2 separate regions of the Homo sapiens genome follow, and region 2 is linked to region 1. Evidence: promoter capture Hi-C in human tissues and cell types (Jung and others, 2019). All regions are on one chromosome and are shown on one strand. Each heading gives the region's core, a stretch centred on a gene start or on the middle of the fragment in contact. The rest is flanking DNA. Distances are from core to core; before and after follow the strand shown.

Region 1 (4,993 bases), core at 1,069-3,568:
CCTCTCAAACTTGTGAGGCCAGGCATGCGCGTGCAGGTGCATGCAGGTGCAATTAGCCGCTTGCCTCATGGTGCATCCTCTCAGCCAAGGTTACACTGAGTATGTTGAGCCTTAGGGCTTCTGTTTCTACTTTGCCTTCTACACAGACAAATTCCTTTCTCTCTTTGCTGCTCAAAATATGTAAAACTTAGCAATGAGAACTATGCTAGATTGTAAGCAGGTTAGTGTTGTAACAAGCTTAAAGAAGATAAACAAAGTATATTTCCTCTTCCTCTTTCAAGAAAGGACTGAAAAACATTCTCCCCCTCAAAAGAATGCTGGAAAGCCACCAACTTCACTACTCTGAAATAAAAAAATTAATATAGTGGGCAGGGACTGTGTCTTATTCACCTTGTGTAGCCCCACAGCCTGGCACATAGTAGGTATTCAATAAATATTTGCTGAATGAATTGGAAGAATTCAAAATTGTATCACAGATATTCTCAAAGTAGAAATGAACAGTCATTTTGAATCATTTCCTGAAGTATGTATGTGGGGAGAGGAGTTTAGGAAGGGTGGAGAGAATATATACTTTATCTAGAGTGATTTGAAAATAGACAAGGGGAGAGAAATTTTTAAAAGAAATCCCATTGGCCTCAGTATTGTCACAACATAATTTTCTATTTAATGATGCAATGACAAAAATTGATGGAAGAAAACAGTCTGGTCTTGGAATAATCAAATATGTTTAAAAACCACGTACTGATGTCAACTCAAAAGTGAGTTTTTTCAGTTATTGGAAAACTGCTCCATAAAGAACACTGTATGTCAAATTCTTTTCATTAATCAAAGAGCAGATAGACAAAGGAAGATTCATCCTTGAGTGTAAAGTATTATAAAAATAATGAGTCCAAGTTAAATGATTTATAGCTATGACAAGTAAAGAATGCTGTTTGGGCAACAGTATTACTCCCAAATGGCTTCCCACTTGTAGAAAAACAGCTTCAGACAAGCCCCATAGTGTATACAGTGGTGCAAAATGACCTGGAAAAAATGGTTTCTATGGATATCATTTAGAGATGCACATCCCTGAATACCTTAAGGCTGAAGGTACTTTAGCTCTTTTCCTCAAAGCAATTGCAGCACAGGTTCTCCTGCCCAGGTTTTGTTTATATAAGAACAATCTTGGCCACAGGTCATTTGTGTAGGAGACAATTAATCACTAGCTCTTTGAGCACAGGTAGGTTAATCAGTATGCACATAATACAATATTAAAATTTTCACGGGGAAAAAATTTTTTTATTTAAAACAATAAAGCATCAGTAATACCTGCTGATCTTTTATCCAAAGCAAGTACAAAGGCTGTTAGTGAAATAGAGAAGACTTTCTTTTTAAACAGTTCGGAAAATACAAGGCATCATTGATCACCTGAAGGCCTCATTTTAATTTGATTCCAGATCCACGGCAGCTTAGAGGTTGTCTTTTTGAAATAGCGTATTGCTAAAATCCTTATGTAGGTCAGAAATGGAACTTCAGGAGCCATCATATTCTGCTATCCTAATAAATAATTAGGGTCAGAACCTCACTTGTTTATGTTTCAAAAAAGCACAATATTTGGACTATAGCAAACATCAGGATTTTTAAAAATTCAAATATTAAATGGCATTCAGAACATCATCCACATGGAAGAGGGAGAGATGAAATAAATCTGCAGATGCCTCTATATACAAAAAGGATGTCCTAGGTTTTGGACTATTAAATACTTTTCTTTCTTCAGACAATACCCTAAAAAAACAATTACAAAGTACTCTGAAACCCTGCCACACCCCTTTGATTAAATCACACTTCACAAAATATTTAGAGAAAGCCTGAACAAATCAAATAAACATCAAGGCAGGAAATGCAGCCAGGAATGCCTGATCCTGAGCTCCCCCAGAGTCTGAAGGGCTGCCTCACTTGAAAATTTAATCAAACACAATCTACTGTAATTCCATTGCAGCCTTTGCACTTAAGGAAAGCTAGTTCAGTCTCTGACATTTTGATTTTCACAGCAGATGGGAGCAAAAAAAGAAAGAAAGAAAGAAAGAAAAAGAAAGAAAGAAAGAAAGAAAGAGAAAAGAAAAGAAAAGAAAAAAAGAAAAACTTCCGCGGCTCACAAACATATGTGTCCAGTTGAGATTTTCTGTCTCCAGCCTTATGCAACATCCAGCAAACAAACAAACAAAAAGGTTATTTTCTATTACTCACTATTACTCCAGGATTTCAGTAAATATTTGATACTGATCTCAAAGAAGCCCGAATCCTGCTGGCTGGCCATGTCTGCGGCATACAAAGAGGCTGGGAGGACGGGCAGCGGCCGGGAGCAGGTACCGGGCGTGATGCGCCTGTCACAGGTTGTGATGTCAGCGCGGGGTCAGGCGCCCAGAGGCAGCTCTGCGGATCCACCTCCGGCTCCGGCCGGGAGTGCTCATCTAAAGGACACGGCGGAGCAGAGAGAGATGCTCGGCCGCTCCTCCTCCTCCGGGTCCAGGACTTGCTTCTTATTTGCTGGACGCTGATCTCCCTGCAGCCCTCGGAGGCGGCGGCCGCGCTGCTTTCATTTCGGGGCTGTCATCACCAGAAACGCCGGCTGCCGGCCGCCCACCAGCTCGGCTCCAGCCAGGTACGCAACCGAGGAAGACCCCACCTGAACTGGGATCGGCTTTCTTCTGGGAGGGAGGGTTTCTAGGCCGGCCTCCCTGACGCGGTGCAGGCAGCCTCCGGCCCACACGGCCGCCGCGGGGCTAAGGGATGGGCCGGGAGCGCCGCCCCCTGCCCCTGCCCACTGTCTCAACCTGAGCCGCGGCTCAGTCTCCGCCTAGGCTGCGGGAGGAATTTCCCAGCTTCTGCGGATCCTCTCTCTTCAGCAAGGCTTCCCGTGAGCGGCCCGGGTGTGCTCTGGCTGCTGCTTCCCCTTGTGTCTGTCCCTGAAATAAACACAACTGCAGCACGCTGCGGTAAGCAAAGCTGCAGCCTTGCATCTGGTTGCAGCGACGTTTTGAAAAACCCCATCCGTCAGCCTCGTTGCAGTAAAGAGACTCAACAAGAGGACGCTTGTCTGGGCTTTTTCTTCCCTGCCTTCCACACGCATGGTGGTATCTGCATTTTTACTTTTCCCTCCCAGAAATGCAGTCTTTTCAAGGGGCATCGGAGCCCGAACGTGTGCACTCTAAGGGGACAGTACACACTGCTTAGTTGGCTTGTTTTTGTAATGTCACACACTCCACAATGGATCTTATTCTCAAACCTCTCATTTCTAAGACTCACTAAGCCCAGTGAAGCTTATTTTATTTGTATGAAAAGGATAAGAAGCAAAAGCATTAGATTCCTTGCTCTACAATGGCTCTTGATTTCATGAATTCTTGATATCAGGTGTCCTGATTTTGGTTAGCTTTGTTTCACATTATCATTTAGCTTGACCAGGGGATTAAATAAGAGTATTATATTTTAATAATGACAGGTTATGTTGGAAGAGGTGGGATTTGGCCAACTATCTCATAAACCACAGGATCCTTCCCAAGTCCCAGTACATTCATGATTAATGTTGTCTAAAAAACAGAAAAAAGTAATAAACCATGTTAATAAGTATTTAACATAGCAAATGTTGGGCTAACTCCCCAAATCAACACACAAACAGGACTTCCTAGATTAACAGTTCATTTTAAAAATGGAAGGGAAAGACTACAATGTACTTTTATTGTTAGGACAAAGAATTTTTAAAATTCAACACTAAATAAAACTTCTAGAACTATGTTCTGAAAGGCCCTAAGATACTTCATCAATACAATTAGTTTTTCAAACTCATTACACTTACCCAAATGGCAAGCACTCAATCACTCAGATTTCCAACTCCACTTATACACTTTATTCTGATGAAATCTCTCACCAGATTGACTTCTTTTTAATTCATGTGCATACTAGAGTTGCTGAACTGATTTTATCACTTGTACTTTGAATGTATGGATTCTAGGTAAAATAAGACCCAAAGGTTTTACCTTGAAACAATTATTATATCTGAAAATAAATTTCATACCTACGCCCATCTGATGCTTGCCAAGACTCAGATGGCAGTGAATGAACAGGTAGGCTGCACAGTGCCCTGCGATTAACGATGGCATGGGCTCTCAAGGCAGGGCCCCATGTTCGCTCCTGGCACCAGCCCTTACTAGCTTTGAGCCCCAAAGTAAGCTATTAACTTTGCTAAGCCTTCGTTTCCTCATCTGTAAAATGGGGTTGTACCTTCTTCCTATAGTTGTTGGAAACAATAAATAACACTATGTATGAAAGGGGCTCAGCATAGTATCTTGCCCATAGTTAACACTTCATTAAATTTTAGCTACATTGATTTTTTTTTTTTTTTTTTTTTTGAGACAATCTCACTCTGTCGCCTGGGCTGGAATGCAGTGGTGCAATCTTGGCTCACTGCAACCTCTGCCTCCCGGGTTCAAGCGATTCTCCTGCCTCAGCCTTCTGAGTAGCTGGGGTGACAGGCATGCGCCACCATGCCCGGCTAATTTTTGTATTTTTAGTAGAAATAGGGTTTCACAGTGTTGGCTGGGGTGATCTTGAACTCCTGACCTCAGGTGATCCACCTGCCTTGGTCTCCCAAAGTACAGACATGAGCCACTGCGCCTGGCCCATTCATTCTTATTATGAATCCTTAGTGACTCTAGAATAGAACTTTTTTTTAAAAAGCTAAATACTTTTTTTTCTTTACTCTTTATGTGGTTTAAAAGATATATTACTTTTGAACACCAGTGGTAACTATTTGGGGAGAGCAAGTTGGAGACATTTAAAATCAGTTGCAATAAGCAAACATGCTATTGTATATTGTTACTCAAATATATAGAGATTCTCTCTGTTGACTTTATTTTAAAAAATTTTTAACTGGCTTTTTAAAGTTTTCAATACTTAAATACATAAGTTTTCAGTATTTAACTACTATAAACATACTAACTTGCTGAGAATGCCACTC
Region 2 (5,720 bases), core at 2,378-4,877, 1.1 Mb before region 1:
CAAGAGATTCTCCCACCTCAGCCTTCCAAGTAGCTGGGATTCCAGGCACCCACCACCACTCCTGGCTAATTTTTGTATTTTTTAGTAGAGACGAGGTTTTGCCATGTTGGCCAGGCTGGTCTCAAACTCCTGACCTCAGACAATCCAACCACCTCGGCCTCCCAAAGTGCTGGGATTACAGGTGTGAGCCACTGTGCTCGGCCAAAACTTTCTGAAGAAGAAATGATTATTGGAAACCACTCGTTGCCGTCACAGTGTTTTTCTATGAGGATCGAGAGGGGAAGCTCTTCTTCTGGTCTCAGGATCTCTCTATGCCTTAGAAAGACCATCTTCTACTCACTGTGCCCAGTGGCTTTCCACAGCAACCACTAGAAGCCCCATCCCAAAATGGCTTAAATGACAGGAAATTCATGGTCTCACAAAACACAAACAAAAAGTCAGGAAATAGGCCAGCCATGGCGGCTCACACCTGTAATGCCAGCACTTTGGGAGGCCAAGGTGGGTGGATCACTTGAGGTCAGGAGTTCGAGACCAGCCTGGCCAATGTGGCGAAATCCTGTCTCTACTAAAAAATGTAAAAAGTAGCTGGAAGTGGTGGCAGGTGCCTGTAATCCCAGCTACTTAGTAGGCTGAGACAGGAGAATCACTTGAATGCGCCACTGCACTCCAGCCTGGGTGACAGAGCAAGACTCCGTCTCAAAAAAAAAAAAAGTCAGGAAATAGAACGGTTCCAGGGTTAGCTCAATCATCAGCTCATCAATAGCTTTGAAGAGAGGTTCTTTCCATCTTTCCCTTTGGCCATCTTCAGCTACTATAACTGGAATCTGATTTGAGACCACCTTTTCTTTATTAGGTTTATGAAAGAAAATTTTCCTGCTGTACTTCCAACAAAAATCCACAGAAACCAAAATATATATATACGTCTATATTTCCCATGTCCCCTAGAAGACAAGGCCAGGGCAGGAAGGTTATTGTCAGACTTCGAGGCAGCACAATAAATCCCTGACTACCCTCTGGACATCCTAAGATCTCAGTCAGAAAAAGCAGCTCAGAGCCCACAGCTGGAGAGCTGCAGACATGTCTAAAATAATTAAAATAACAATATTTGCTGAAACGAGAAAGAAATTTGGAAACCAAACAATACAAAGATAGCATCTCTGGGATGTGTGTGTGCACGCACATGACTGTGTGCCCAGAAACAGCCCGCAAGACACGGTGGACAAAAGAGGAACGTGCTCGACAATTTAAACAGAAACACTGTCTGCTTTATTCTTTTTGTAGATCCTGATCAACATTTCTCTGCTGTTAAAAAAGTAGGAATTCTTCTCAAATGGAATAATACCTGCTCATATGAGGATAAATATTTGTGAGTCACACTGAAGTATTTACCTTCAGGGCATCTCGATTATGAGAACTCTCGTACAGCACAGCCAGCCCTGTGGTGTGCACAGTCCTGGGCCTCCTTCCAAAATCAGAAAAGCAGAAGATGTAAACAAATCGGAGATGGATCTCACCCCAATAATCACTCACCTGACATCTTGAATTTTTTTCTCTTTTGACAGTACATGCTTTCTTTCCATGCCCTTTGATGAAATTTGGAGTTGTTGCCAGTTGAAGGAAGATAAATATTGTCTGGATTCTTTGTGGCGAATCATCTAAGTATGGCAAAACTGTGCATTTTCTAGACATTCCAAACTTTAAGAATAAAAAAGAAAGTAACTCATATTTTAAGTGACAATATTATCAGCCTGAATATCCTGATGTGTGGGATTAGAGCGATAAACCTTGGAATGCAAAGAAATATTACTAAGAATTCTGTTTTTATGGCCACAAAAAGTAGCAGTGTATAATTTCCCCTGTGATCCATTCGGCTGACATATACAAAAACCTGAGTATGCTCTAATGGCTTGGAATCCTTCCCCTGCTGTTACCACAATTTAAAAGAATGAGGACTGCTCTCCATTTGTTGCAGCAATCAGGAAAGCCTTTGTCACATACCCGAACTTGGGTGGAGGCCGGCCTGGCACACAGAGTGATCAGTAAGACGACCTGTATTAGGCTTTCCTCCAGGTATAGGGGGGATGAGCAGTGGCTGACACTAGTGGCCACTGTCTACCTGACCAGCCACTCAGGAAGGTTCTACCTTGCTTTGCAGAAGTGGGCCAACCCATGAGCCACTGGGGAATGAGAGCTGTGAAAATTGAGGGTTGAAGCAAATCAACTCCCTATAGGCATTTAAAAAATAGCAGACATATTATTTCACTATAAGCCAGGGTGCCCAGGAAAGTTCAGTTCCTTTTTGAATAGCGGGTAAGTCCAGCACAGAAAGTTCCTCTAGAGGGCCTAGAGCTTAACCTGCCCCACCATTGCAGGATCTTCATTCTTGCCGGGCTCTGCTCTGCCTCACTCATTCTCATTAGGGCCACTCTGTCCTTGATGCCTTAATGCTCCATTTATTCATCAAGTAGGGGAGGAGTCTAGACTCTAAGATGAAAAAGGCATGATATGACAATATCTTGAGGTCTGAAAAAAAAGCCACCCAGGAATCATTCTCACTAGAGCCATAGCTTACTGCATAAAAACAAACAGGTAGAAAAGTAAGTGCCAAGAATTCCAAAGAAGAAAAAGTAAATAAATTCCTTAAATCAAAATATGTACTTATGATATTAGTCTGTTTCATGAACATATTCCCCATAAAACTCTCCCCTGCAGGGGCACTGGATATGGCTGTTTATCTGGGATTCTTTCATCCACGACCCACATTGTTTTCACCAAACCTCCCATTGACCAGACGTTCTCAAAATCCCCATGGCAATGTAAACCCTAAAGGGCAGGGAATTTTATCTGTTCTGCTCACTAATGACACCTAGGAACTCTAAGCATGCCTGATACACAGTGGTTACTTAATCACTACTTGTTGAATAAATGAATAAAATAATAATAACATCTGCAGTGTGATAAGATGTAACAGGTCGCAAAGCACATGCACATCTATTTCCTCACTTACTCTCCACAGTAATCCTGTGAGGTGGGGTTTTATTCTTATCTTCATTTCATAGGAGAGGAAGACAGTGTTCGGGTACTGCCTAAAGTAGCTATACTAGTAGTTCAGCATGTACTAATTGGGAGGCAATTCCAGCTCATCCAGTTCCCTTCCCATGCTTCCTCCTCCTCCTCACAACCAAGTGTGGCCTGGCTGACACATCCCTATGGCTTTGTTTCAGGTGGGTCTTTTTCGCAAATCAGGAGTGAAGTCTCGAATCCATGCCCTTCGCCAAATGAATGAAAACTTCCCTGAGAACGTCAACTATGAAGACCAGTCTGCTTATGATGTGGCGGATATGGTGAAACAGTTCTTCCGGGACCTCCCTGAGCCTCTTTTCACCAACAAGCTCAGTGAGACCTTTCTCCATATCTATCAGTGTAAGTGGAAATAATGAGATTGGTGTTCTCGTGGGCATCCTTCCACTTTAATGAAAATAATTCCCTATAGATTGAGTTTTAATTATACGAATAATACATCAATCCATAAAGATGTATGTAATCCTGCTCTCCTCTACGGAAGTAACTTTTGCTCAAAGTTTGATATGGAAATCCACAAGCCATTTTTTTATGCATTTGAAAATACCTTTTTGACATCAAAATATTCCTTCTCAAAAGAGTTTTGTGTATGATCTAAAACAAACTTTCAATACATTTACAAAAATTTAAAATGAAAAAGGGACACAATAGAAGTTGTTTTATATATAGGTATTTATTAAAACTTATTCAATTTTTTAAAAAAGTAAGCATTTCTTTGGGATATAGGAAATTCAAAGTGACATGAATTAAAATGACAGGAAATAAAAACAAATGTATTTTAGCACAAAGTATCTTCATTGGTGAAAAGTAAGCAAACCAAATCAAGTCTTAAGCTTAAATAAACTTATTTATATTTTCACTTGGATTTTTTTTAATAATGTTAAGTTCTCAGCAAAGCCTGTATAATTAAAATAATCCCTGAAAATAACAATTGTTGATTAAGAAGCATATCCTACTATAAGTGGTTGCAATGGGGGTATTAGAAATAAACACATGGGCTGGGCATGGTGGCTCACGCCTGTAATCCCAGCACTTTGGGAGGTGGAGGTGGTTGGATTGTCTGAGGTCAGGAGTTCAAGACCAGCCTGGCCAACATGGTGAAACCCCATCTCTAACTAAAAGATACAAAAATTAGCCAGGCATGGTGGCGGGTGCCTGAAATCCCAGCTACTCAGGAGGCTGAGGCAGGAGAATCACTTGAACCCAGGAGACGGAGGTTGCAGTGAGTGGAGATTGCACCACTGCACTCCGGCCTGGGTGACAGAGCGAGACTCCATCTCAGAAAAAAAAGAATGAAATTAAACACGTGACTCTTTGCTAGATATGACAATGTTAACATTATGAATTATTTTGATGGTCCAGATCCCAATTCATGGGGGAAAAAAGCCATTTGGCCCATGGACTTTGAGTTTTGAGTTTTCAGCAAAATATGCCTGAAATGGACCTTGACATGGACTTGATTCAATTTGAAGAATATCCATGCTATAGAGAATTCTGTATAAAATGTGTTTAAGGAGTCCATGATACTGCAAACTCAGAAAGGATTGTAATCAGAACCACTTGTGAAAACAGATTAAGGTGGCAACCCACTAAGTAAATATTAGTTTTTCAAAGTAAGTAGATTAAGTTAAGTTAATGGTACAAGTTGCTAGAGCCCAAACAGGGAGTTCTTGATGTTGTTGCTGTGAGAGGTTGAACTACATTTTTCAATTAAGTCTCCCTTATGGTTTGGAAGTATCAGATATGAGTCTTTTACATTTAATCAGTTCTTGGATTAAAGTTGACACTAGTCTAAGGCTAAAGCCACATTACTTTCAAGAAATAAATGTCTTTGGCCCTTTCTGAGTCACAAGCAAGAAGCCAGATCAAAGCAGGCTTTATTTTAGCTGAGCAAACATTTACAGAGCGTGACTTCTGTACTGGGCACCGTGCTTAGCATGGCAGAGCATATGGATGGATGAGACTCACTCTCTGATCTTAAGGATCTTACAATTGAGGGAGATGAGGCATGAACACAAAAAACTCCAACACAACAAATTTGGAGAATTTCCATAGAAAGGTTACAAAGAAAAGTCCAAGGAGGGAGAGATGAAGAATGAGGGCTTCATGGAGGAAGTGACAACTGAAGGCTGAGATATGTGAGGAACACATTTTGGGTACCTGCTCGGCAGATAGCATAAGCAGAAGTCAGGAGAGCCCAGTGTATTCATCTGGCTTGCATGTATGGCAGACATACAAAGTGACACCAAATGACACTGAAAAATGACGCTGGGGCCATAAAGGAAGGACATTGAATATTAGGGCAAGGAGTGTATGCTTGATTCATTAAGCATTGGGGAACCGTCGGGTGTTGTTGAGGGACTTACCAGTTACAGTGTTCTCAGCTGTAAAGACAGAACCAAATATCCAACGAACAGTCATTTGAACAGTCATTTAAACAATAAGTACATTTTATTATCTCACATAATTCCAGAGTTGGGTATCCCGCAGCTCAGTGATGCCAGGGCTAAAGTCAGCCTCTATTGGCTTTCCCTTTAAGGTCACAATATAATTGTCACAACTTATAATTATCACATCTTCACAAAATCACATTCCAAGACAAGAAGAGAGTGACCACGCTTCTCTTTGGCCATGTGTCT

What was found. The method cuts DNA at HindIII sites, captures the fragments that hold promoters and counts their contacts. A contact is called where the count stands out against the background at its distance.
Region 2: a fragment that was not itself captured here is called in contact with the fragment with the promoter of FRY in region 1 in 1 of the 25 tissues and cell types used here (aorta).

Annotation. Positions count from the first base shown.
Region 1 is chr13:32,029,099-32,034,091 of GRCh38, reverse strand. It overlaps FRY (FRY microtubule binding protein), which reads right to left and starts at 2,318. Exons shown (of 61, transcript NM_023037.3): 1 at 2,227-2,318. The coding sequence starts at 2,296. It overlaps FRY-AS1 (FRY antisense RNA 1), which reads left to right and starts at 2,453. Exons shown (of 4, transcript NR_103839.1): 1 at 2,453-2,641. The HindIII fragment of the contact is 5,087 bases long and covers 34-4,993 here.
Region 2 is chr13:33,115,768-33,121,487 of GRCh38, reverse strand. STARD13 (StAR related lipid transfer domain containing 13) reads left to right here. Exons shown (of 14, transcript NM_178006.4): 8 at 3,225-3,423. Among named protein-coding and RNA genes, the nearest start is that of KL, 100 kb to the right of the region's middle. The HindIII fragment of the contact is 8,860 bases long and covers 1-5,720 here.